Regions from separate parts of the Homo sapiens genome. Here region 1 is linked to region 2. Evidence: promoter capture Hi-C in 16 types of primary human blood cells and fetal thymus (Javierre and others, 2016). All regions are on one chromosome and are shown on one strand. Each heading gives the region's core, a stretch centred on a gene start or on the middle of the fragment in contact. The rest is flanking DNA. Distances are from core to core; before and after follow the strand shown. Region 1 has its middle 23 kb from the start of ACBD3-AS1. Region 2 holds the start of PYCR2 (pyrroline-5-carboxylate reductase 2).

Evidence for each region. Contacts are between HindIII fragments. The CHiCAGO score rates a contact against its expected background, and 5 or more counts as called.
Region 1: a fragment that was not itself captured here is called in contact with the fragment with the promoter of PYCR2 in region 2 in 1 of 17 cell types (neutrophils); the score reaches 5.2 in neutrophils.

What each region holds. Positions count from the first base shown.
Region 1 is chr1:226,122,176-226,127,274 of GRCh38, reverse strand. It overlaps the pseudogene LOC112268255. Among named protein-coding and RNA genes, the nearest start is that of ACBD3-AS1, 23 kb to the left of the region's middle. RefSeq lists enhancers at 1,773-2,067, 4,302-4,531 and silencers at 4,622-5,001, 5,012-5,099. The HindIII fragment of the contact is 2,467 bases long and covers 1,320-3,786 here.
Region 2 is chr1:225,922,372-225,927,903 of GRCh38, reverse strand. PYCR2 (pyrroline-5-carboxylate reductase 2) reads left to right here and starts at 3,654. Exons shown (of 7, transcript NM_013328.4): 1 at 3,654-3,860; 2 at 4,133-4,203; 3 at 5,521-5,532. The coding sequence starts at 3,794. RefSeq lists silencers at 3,308-3,387, 3,528-3,617, 3,928-4,057 and an enhancer at 3,108-3,757. The HindIII fragment of the contact is 26,114 bases long and covers 1-5,311 here.

The DNA of each region.
Region 1 (5,099 bases), core at 1,304-3,803, 200 kb before region 2:
GCAGAAGTCCTTACTCGGCCCCGCAGGCGGCCAGCCGCTCGGGGAAGGCGCGGAGGCAGCTTCGCATGCGGCCCCACACCGCTCCGTCAGCCGACATGAGCGGCTATTCCCAGCGCCCCTCATGTGTGTGTTTTCAAAATGAGGTTTTGCTCTGTCACTGAGGCTGGAGTGCAGAGGTGCCATCATAGCCCATTGCAACCTCCACCTCCTGGCCTTAAGCAGTCCTCCTGCCTCAGCCTCCCAAGTAGCTGGGACTACAAGTGTGTGCTTGTTTTTTCTTTTGTAGAGATAGGGTCTTGCTATGTTGTCCAGGCTGGTCTTGAAGCCCTGGGCTCAAGCAATCCTTCCACCTTGGCCTCCCAAAGCACTGAGATTATAAGCATGAGCCTCCATACCCAGCCCAAGAACCCCCACTTTATTGTGTGATCAATTGTTCCAGTTTGCCCAGGACTCTCAGTTTTAGCACTGGGACTCTCTCTTTTTTTTTTAGACGGATTCTTGCTCTGTCGCCCAGGCTGGAGTGCAGTGGCGCGATCTCAGCTCACTGCAACCTCCACCTCCCAGGTTCATGCCATTCTTCTGCCTCAGCCTCCCGAGCAGCTGGGACTACAGGTGCCCGCCACCACGCCCAGCTAATTTTTTGTATTTTTAGTAGAGACGGGGTTTCACTGTGTTAGCCAGGATGGTCTCGATCTCGTGACCTCGTGACCCACCCGCCTTGGCCTCCCAAAGTCCTGGGATTACAGGCATAAGCCACCGTGCCCGGCTTTTTTTTTTTCTTTTTTCTTTTTTTTTTTTTTTTTGAGACAATCTCGCTCTGTCATCCAGGCTGGAGTAAAGTGGCACAATCTTGGCTCACTGCGACCTCTGTCTCCCGTGGTTCAAGCAATCCTCCTACCTCAGCCTCCCAGGTAGCTGGGACTACAGGTGTGTGCCACCATGTCCAGCTAATTTTTGTATTTTTTTGTAAAGACAGGGTTTCACCATGTTGCCCAGGCTGGTCTTGAACTCCTGAGCTCAAGCAATTCACCCACCTCAATCTTCCAAAATGCTGGGAGTACAGGCATAAGCCACCGCTCTCACCCATTCATTCAGTTTTTCAAAATCAGATCTGAGCTCCAGTCCTGGGAGCCTGGGGCAGCTTCTGATGCTAGGAGAGGCACAGGCCTGGCTACCACCATGGGTAGCAGAGGAGTGGGGTCAGCTCTGAACTTAGGAGAGTGATAGGAGGGAGAGGAGGCTGGGAGAGTAACAGGAGGGAAGGAGGGAAATTCTGCTGCCGCCGCCGCCGCCGCCGCCGCCGCTGCTGCTTTGAAGCTTTCCTGGGTAAATGGTGACAAGGACCACAAACCTCCTTACCTGGGCGAGAGCTTTGGGAGGTTTCAAAGCACCTTCACTTACATCACCCTACTGGATTCCAAATTACTCCTTAGAGCAGTGCCCATAAGAAATACTGCATTTGTCCAGTTTCTATTTCCTCTGCCTGAGCTTGAGCTGCTTTGGTGGCAGGGACCATCCCAGTGTCCCCATCAAACCTTCAGTGCCCAGTAGACAGAACCCTTGCCCAATCTTCCCGTCCAAATCCTGCATCTTCTGCAGGAGCTAGTTCCTCTGCAGGTCCTGGCAATATGGAGCACAGGGTCCATAGTTTTCCTCCCACCTATGGATTTCCTCTGGGCCATCACAGCCTGTTCCACAGACTGAATTTCAGCTCCCTGTCTTGGCCAGGGCACATCCTGTCTAATCACTCATGTTCACCCAGCTTTGCACCCTCTTCAGCCTCCCCACGTTTAAGCGAGGCAGCTGGCGGTGCAGGAAGAATATTCATCCATCTCCTAGGAGCTCAGGAGTCAGACCCTGGGCCCAGACTCCTGCAGCAAGTCGGGGCTTCTGTCACAAGCGCCTCACCTTACTGGCTTTGGCGCCATCTAGTGGACGCATCTGGGTCTGCGGGGACCGCAGCCCTTCCTGTGACCCAGAAGCAAAACCAGCAATTTACCTGGCCGTACATTATTTTTGAGTCCCGAATCCCAAGAGTCCACTCCCAACCCAGCTCAGCATGTATTGTCCACTGCCTGCTTAGTGCCGGACCAACACACCTTCACCTCACATCAACAGGGACTCAAACAGAGCCTCTTCCCCTCAAATCCCAGCCCCATACTCAACTGTGTGCACAAAAGCAGGCATTCGTCCTAACAAAGCAGAATGAAACAACCCAAACTTCCCTCAAGATGGGGAGCATGCATTCTACGGAATATTATGAAATGGATAAAAGGGTTTGCTGGATTGGAAACGTCTCCAAAAGCACATTAAAGAACAATACATACCGCATGATGCCGTTTATTGGAAGAAACAAACCCAAGCCTGATCCACTGTTCGCATATCCGTGTGAAATGCAGAGGGAGGGCTGGACACACACCAAGCTAATCACAGGGACCTTTAGGGAGGGATGGGGGTGGGGTAAGGGTGAAAGAGGCCTTTCCTTTTACACACCTTTACTGTGTATCTTTTTATATTTCTAAGGCAAAAGGTAAATTAAACAACCCCTGTGTTAAAGGTGGAGAGTGTCCAGGTTCTTGGCATCTTGAACAAAGAATTGGAAGAGACACACAAACAAAGCAAGGAAGGAATGAAGATTTTATTGAAAATGAAAGTACACTCCACTGTGTGGGAATGGGCCTGAGTGTAGGATTCAAAAGGCCCTGTTACAGAATTTGGGGGAGTTTAAATACCCCCTAGAGGATTCATTGGTTACTTCGGGTATGCCCTATATAAACAGAGAGGATGAAGTAAAGTTACAAAGTCATTTACCTGATATGCCCTATGGAGAGGATATTTCCGGTTATAGCTGAAGTGTGAATGAGCCTTATGTTCCCTGCCTCCAGACCCTATTTTCCTGCCTCACCTGGTGCCAGGAGCTGAGTCGCTGCTGCTCTCCCAGGTGCTCCATGATGAGCAGTGCTGGCCTTCTGATCCGACTCTCCCACACCCACACCAGCTGCCTTCCTGAGCCACCAGGCTCCCCAGTGGTGGCTCCTCTCCTTTGACGGCCTTGTCACCTCTCTGCAGTCTCTTCCCCTCACACCTGGCCGCTGCAGCCCCTCAGTGGTGAGCATTCGGTGGGCTGATCAGCATCCGCACACCGCTCCTAGTAAGGGGCAATCCCCATTTTGTGAGCTGTCATGGGAGCCAGGGCCCCTCCTCCCACCTCAAAGGCTAAAGGGGGCAGCATTCCTTCTCCCTTCCTGGGCATCTGGCTAACCCAGGCAAAGATGCAGGGACAGGAGCCCTCCCTCCCCGCTGTGGTGCCCAGCACCCCCGCCCATCATTACAGCCAATGCCTGTGGAGTTGTGGCAGGGGCTGCATTCAGCGATGCTGCAGCCCAGTAGTGGTGGTGACCACAGTCACCTCCCAAGACTGTCCCCGGCTGTGGCTGTGGCCATCCAGACTCCTGGTCAGCTCCCTGAGCTCCCCACAATACTCCCAAGGACTCCTTTTCTACTTAGTCATCAGGGTTGATTTCGATTGCTGGCCACCTCCCTTTGGGCCCTGGCCAGGCCTGTGGAGCTAGTCCTTTCCAAGTGTCACAGGTGAGTGACTGTGTGTGAGGGACAGCGGGTCAGTGTGATAGATAACCTGTGGTCCACATAGGGAGATGGTGCCATACCAAGAAACTGCCAGGACCGAGATGTTAAAGAGTCAGGGGATGTGACTTGCTAAAGGCAACCACGGGAGATGACTGTGCTGGGAAGATGGTTTCAAGAAAACTGGGAACCTAGGAAGCTTGGTGAGCACCCACTTGGACCTTCCCTGGCCTGGCAGGGCCTCCCCTTGGAGGGATAGCCCTGCAGCTTCCCCATCAGTGGGCAGGCTTGGGGAGGGCCTGGAGAGGAGAGGGGTCCCCTAAACACACCCAGCCCCAGGGCCTCAGCAGACAAGTGCTGGTCACCTATTATTTGTACTTATTGTAGTAAACAGTCACTTTTAGGCTGGGGGCTCACGCATGTAATCCCAGCACTTTGGGAGGCCGAGAGGGGCGGATCACTTGAGCTCAGGAGTTTGAGACCAGCCTGGCCAACATGGCAAAACCCCGTCTCTACTAAAACTACAAAAAAATTAGCCGGGCGTGGTGGCGGGCGCCTTGTAATCTTAGCTACTGGGGAGGCCGAGGCAGGAGAATGGCGTGAACCCGGGAGGCGGAGGTTGCAGTGAGCCGAGGTTGCTCCCCTGCACTCCAGCCTGGGCGACAGAGCGAGACTCCATCTCATAAAAAATCACAACAGTCACTTTTATGAGCAGTGCTCATTTCACCCCGCCTCTACCACACACTCGGCAGGGCGGCTTCACAGGTGCCCTTCCTGCTGTCTGGGACCCTTTGCCAGACTCCTCCCCACCTGGCCACCCTTCTTTCCAACCAACAACGTGGCTCCTCGGTTCCTCCAGGTTCCTTCCTGCCCTGTAAAACCCCTGGCCTCCTGCCAGGCTCAAGAAATGCCCTCGGATCTCTTCCGTGCTTTCGCCCCGCAGGAGACACAGCCTAGGTCCCGCCTCCGTCACGCGACAGAGACTCAGAAAGCGCCCACGCGGGCAGGGCCCGGGCAAGACTACCTCACCGCCGCCCACCCATCCCCGGAGCCTTCAGCAGCGCGGAGCTCAGGCTTCCCTGTCTCCCCTCTGCCCCCGCGCCGGCCGTGCGTGCAGTGCTTCGGCCCCTAGGCTGCGCCCGCGCCCCGTCCTCCCTCCCGGGGTTGGTGCGGGTCTCCCAGGCCGGGCCGGGGCACTGGACCGACGCCCAGGAAGCGGCCGCCGCCGCAGCGAATTGCCCGCTCTCGCTTCGGCTTTCACCGCCCAGAAAGCGGCGCCTCCGACCTGGCTCTTAAACAACGGCGACTTTTATTATAAAGCCCGGGGGTGGTGCGGAGGAGCCCGCCACTCGGTGCCCCTCACTGCGGCCTCTGGCCTTCGCCTGGAAGGCGCGCGAGCCGGCGGCCCCGAGAGGCCGGGGGTGGGAGGCGCGGGGGCGACCCCGACGCGTGGAGCCGCCCGGGACGCACGCGGGCCCCAGCAGCCCCGAGTGCAGTCCTGGCTGCGTTGTGGG
Region 2 (5,532 bases), core at 2,405-4,904:
TTTGTTTTCTTACTTTGTTTTTATTTTTTGTTGTTTTCTTTTCTCTTTTGCTCTTTTTTATTTCCATCTTATATTTTTAAAAAATAAAATATAATAGATTTTGTATATATAAACTTTAAACTTTGGAGATGAAAAAATAATAGATCAAAACTACCACAAAAAAGAACAGTTTGTGGTCAGTGGCTCACTTGCTGCCCTAAGTCCAAACTGAGGGGAGCAAGTGCTTTTGCTACTCCGTGTCTTATGTGGCCAGTCCTGGCTGGGGATGAAGCCAACACTGGGGGTCACCAACATGGCCTCTTTTTTTTTTTTTTTTTTTTTTTTAGACAGAGTCTCACACTGTCACTCAGCCTGGAGTGCAGTGGCACAATCTTGGCTCACTGCAATCTCCACCTCCCAGGTTCAAGCAATTCCCCTGTCTCAGCCTCCTGAGTAGCTGAGATTATAGGTGCCCGCCACCACATCCGGCTAATTTTTTGTATTTTTAGTAGAGATGGGGTTTCACCATGTTGGCCAGGCTGGTCTCGAACTCCTGACCTCAGGTGGTCCATTCGCCTCAGCCTCCCAAAGTTCTGGGATTACAGGTGTGAGCCACCGCACCCGGCCATCCTTTCTTAGGCTTTTGCAGTTCTCCCATTTCACCCTGGCTCCCGGAAGCGGAAACGGGAGATATCAACGCAAGGCAACCAGGTAAGGGATGGGTGTATGTAAGGGGTCAGAAAGGAGTGAGACACAAGTGTCCCCCACACCTCACTCCAAAACACACATTCAGCTTCAGCACAACCTCCTGTATTGCAGGTCAGATCCAGAGCTCCCCACAACAGACCACAGCCAGGAAAAGCAAAGGGCCCTGCAGTGCCCTGGTGGACTATGGGGAGGGTGAGTATCCTGCAGAGGAGCAGGCAGCATTAGGAAGTTGTGAAGGAGGGTAAACCCCCAACTTCCTCACTACCTGACAAAGACTCCTCTACAACAAAAGGGAGGCCAAATGCAGGCAAACAGAAATGAGACAAAGAGAAGAGGGGAAGTGCTGGCAGCGCAGTGTTCTAGTTCCATTCCTGAGGTCCTGCTCTCTGTAGGTGCCCCTTCTGGTCTGTGAGCTCCCCTGTGCCTCTCCCAAGCGCTGTACAGAAGCCCCCCTTTTCCTTCAGCCAGTTTGGTTTCTGCTGGGTTTCTGGTTTCAGAGCTTTACGCTGGTAACCATTAGGCTATGCTGCAACATGGCAGCTATGGGAGCTCTTAAAGCCCCAAACCACTGGACCTTACAAATCTCACTTCTGGGAGTCATGTTAAGAAAATAATGAGTCAGGCAAAGATTTTATCACAATAATATGAACAAAAATTTAAAAAATTGAAGGCCAGGAGTGGTGGCTCATGTCTGTGATCCCAGCACTTTGGGAGGCTGAGGCGGGTGGATCACCTGAGGTCAGGAGTTGGAGACCAGCCTGGCCAACATGGTGAAACCCCATCTCTACTAAAAATACAAAAATTGGCCAGGCGTGGTGACACATGCCTGTAATCCCAGGTACTCGGAAGGCTGAGACAGGAGAATCGCTTGAACCCGGGAGATGGAGGTTGCAGTGAGCCGAGATCATGCCACTTCACTCCAGCCTGGGTAACAAAGACTCCGTCTCAAAAATAAATAAATAAATAAAAATAAGAAATAATAATAAATTGATGTTTTATGAGGACAGGAACTTGTCTGTTTTGTTCATAGCTATACTCCCAGAACCTGGCTCAGTAAGTTATCTATTATATAAATCAATAAACCTAACATTGACCTTTGAATGGTTAAATCAGTAAGGTACATACATATAATAAGTAGTCATTAAAACTGTCTTAAATAACTTTTCAGTGACATTGGAAAATGCTCATGTCTACTAGAGAAATTTCAAAACTACATGTACATCATTTATTTCCAATGATGGAGAAAGTAGATATGCATAGGACATGATAGTGTAAGGAAATACACCAAAAATGTTTGTAAGAAACTATCTTTGGGAAGTATGATGTGGATGATTTTATTTTTACTTTTATCTCCAAACTTTCTTCAATATGTCTGTATTACTTTTCGAATTTAAAAAATACAGAGGCCAGGTGCTGTGGCTCACGCCTGTAATCCCAGCACTTTGGGAGGCTGAGACAGGCAGATCACCTCAGGTCGGGAGTTCAAGATCAGCCTGACCAACATGGAGAAACCCTGTCTCTACTAAAAATACAAAAAATTAGCCGGGCGTGGTGGCGCATGCCTGTAATCCCAGCTACTCAGGAGGCTGAAGCAGGAGAATCGCTTGAACCCGGGAGGTGGAGGTTGCAGTGAGCCGAGATCGTGCCATTGCACTCCAGCCTGGGCAACAAGAGCGAAACTCTGTCTCAATAAATAAATAAATAAATAAATAAATAAAACATAGCATTATTTTGCTTAATAGTAAATATTATATTTGGTCCTCACTTTAAAGGGTGCACAAACTGAGGGCCTGGGGACTTGCTCAGGGAAGTTCACAGAAAGCAGCCCCTTGCCTGGGAGTGGGGGTGTGCATTACACGGAAAGGACTAGAAAAGCTAGCAGAGAGACCATGGGAACTAAGGGTCCTCAGCTCTTCTGAGTCCTCTAGGAACGCCACCTTCTTCCTCTCTACTTCTGTCATTTGTTCCCTGCGGCCCCTTATATTTACTACTGATAGAAAAGGAAACATCACATTGGTGGAGCTTTTAAAAGCAAGAGACAGGTCGGGCGCGGTGGCTCACGCTTATAATCCCAGCACTTTGGGAGGCCGAGGCGGGCGGATAACCTGATGTCAGGAGTTGAAGACCAGCCTGAACAACATGGTGAAACCCCGTCTCTACTAAAAATACAAAAATTATCCGGTCGTGGTAGCGGGCGCCTGTAATCCCAGCTACTGGGGAGGCTGAGGCAGGAGAATCGCTTGAACCCGGGAGGCGGAGATTGCAGTGAGCCGAGATCGTGCCACTGCACTCCATCCTGGGCAACAAGAGTGAAACTCCGTCTCAAAAAAAAAAAGGCAAGTGACAGCAAGGGGCTGGGGGGTGCGGGATCGCGGAAGAGTCGGAGACTCGAACTTGTCCTTCTTGTATCTAGTTTGGACAAATTCGCGAGAAACACTCAAGTTCAAGTGAATAAGCCGCGGCTGACCACCCTGGTGCCGCCTCGCCGCCACCTGGTCTGAACCTCGCCGCCACCTGGTCTGAACCTACGCCAGGAGGGCCTCGTTCATCCCCGCAAATCGGCAACCTGGAGAATTCCTGTGGGCCTTGAGGGGCATCTGATGGCCAGCGCCAGAAATAATATTAGCCAGGCCTGGGCCAGGCCTCAGCCCTGAGCCCGAGGTGGCTTAGGGACGGCGACCTCAGCCTTGGGGTGGGGGGGGGGGGTGGGGGCGGCCGGGCGTCCTGGGCCGGCGGGCGCCTGGAGCTCACGCCAAGCTGCCACAGGGGCTTCCGGGACTCCAGCCCGGAGTTCCGCCCTCCAGTCGCGAGCGGAGGAGGCGGGCACGCGGCCTGGCTCGGGCCGCGGATTGGCCTGCCCCGAGATCCTGGCCACTGATTGGTCGCCCGGACGGGGCGGGGCCACGTGGCCTAAGGCGCCATCAGCCGCCCGGGAGATATCCGCCGGGGGAGAATAGGGTTGCACCATCCCAGAAGCTGCTGTTAGCTCGCCGGTCCTCGGCACGCCGCCCGTTCGCCCCTGCGCTGTCCGCCCTTCCCCTAGCGTTACTTCCGGTCCCTCGCTGAGGGGGTTCGTGCGGCTCCCAGGAGGCGTGAACCGCGGACCATGAGCGTGGGCTTCATCGGGGCCGGCCAGCTGGCCTATGCTCTGGCGCGGGGCTTCACGGCCGCAGGCAAGCGCGTGGAGGCGGGAGGCGGCTTCGCGGGCGGTCCCGAGGCCCGAGGGGGCCTCCGTCCCACCAGCATGAGCGAATGAAAGGGGAGTTTGCGTCCGGTGGGGTAGATGAGACTCTGGTTGAGCAGCAAGTGCGTCTTCTGTCCTCGTAGAGGGTTGAGGGGGAGAGGGAGACTGGCACTGTTAGGACGGCTCTGGGTTTTAGAGCCAGGGAAAGCGTGGTAACGGGCTGGGCCGCGACCCCTAGTTGAAAAGCTCTGTCTTCTGCAGGCATCCTGTCGGCTCACAAGATAATAGCCAGCTCCCCAGAAATGAACCTGCCCACGGTGTCCGCGCTCAGGGTAGGTGGAGCCGGGCGGAGTGGGAAGCGGGTGGAGGCCCAGGAAAAGGATGACCTGAGATGAAGTGAGTCTGGCCGGCCCCTGCGCCCAAGTGCTGGTCTTTGGCCGGCGGTGACCTTTACTCCAGGAACGTGACAATCTTTCCACCTTCTCTTGGGCAGCTCAATGTGGTGGGAACACCCAGGGAGACATAACTGGGGGTCAGATCCAGACACTGGAGTGGTAGAGGATTAACTGAGGTGATTATGTGATGAAAGCACCTGGCACATAGTAGGTACCTAATAAATACTCATTTTTTAAATTTTTTTTCAGACAGGGTCTTACTCTGTCGCCCAAGCTGGAGTGCAGTGGCGCGATCTCAGCTCACTGTAACCTCCGCCTCCCACCTCAGCCTCCCACCTCAGCCTCCCGAGTAGCTGGAATTACAGGCATCCACCACGCGCAGCTAATTTTTGTATTTTTGGTAGAGAATACTGTTGGCCAGGCTGGTCTCGAACTCCTGGCCTCAAGTGATCTGCCCGCCTTGGCCTCCCAAAGTGCTGGGATTACAGGGGTGAGCCACTGCGCTCAGCCATTTTTCTTAATAGACGAGTTGTATGACCTTAAAGTACTCAGCCACTTTGAGGCTATTTCCTCATTTACAACAGTGGCCACTTTGCTGTTATTCTGAGTCGTGAATGAGCATATTGGGAAGAATCTGGTGAGTTAGTTGTTCTGTTCTCCAAAAACATATTCCAAGTCTTCACCCAAAACCTGTGCTCTGTGGGAGAGGATGGCTGATGAGGCAGGTGACAGGCAGTGTCTGTGCCTAGGGTGGGCTGATGTCCCTAGCACTGGAGGGTCCTGCTTCTCAGTTTGGAGTCATAGAGGGATGGATGGCTTCCAGCCTAGCCCTGGACCACATGGAGACTGTGCGGTCCCCACGAACAAGCGGCCAGGGTTAGGATAGGGCCTGACTCAGCTGTGCTTTTAACGACCAGGTATTAGCATTTCCCTTTGCCCTGCCACTTTCACCATAGGGCCTTCTTACCTGGCAGAGGAGTGCCTTAGATACCAGAAGATTGGCAGGGAAGAAGGGCAGCCACTTCCTGGTTACCATGGAGAAGCTTGTCATGCTCCAAGCCTGTGCTTACTTGTCCAGTAGCAACAATGGGAAACTGTATTATTTGGGGTAGGGGTAGAACCCTGAGGGCATAAAGCTAAGAATTCCAGGCTGCATCTGGCAGAATCGGTTTGGCAGGGGTTCAGCTGCTCCCTGGGAGGCCTTGGCATAGCCAGGCTGCTCCAGCACTGTGAGCTGGGAGTCTCCTCTTGCAGAAGATGGGTGTG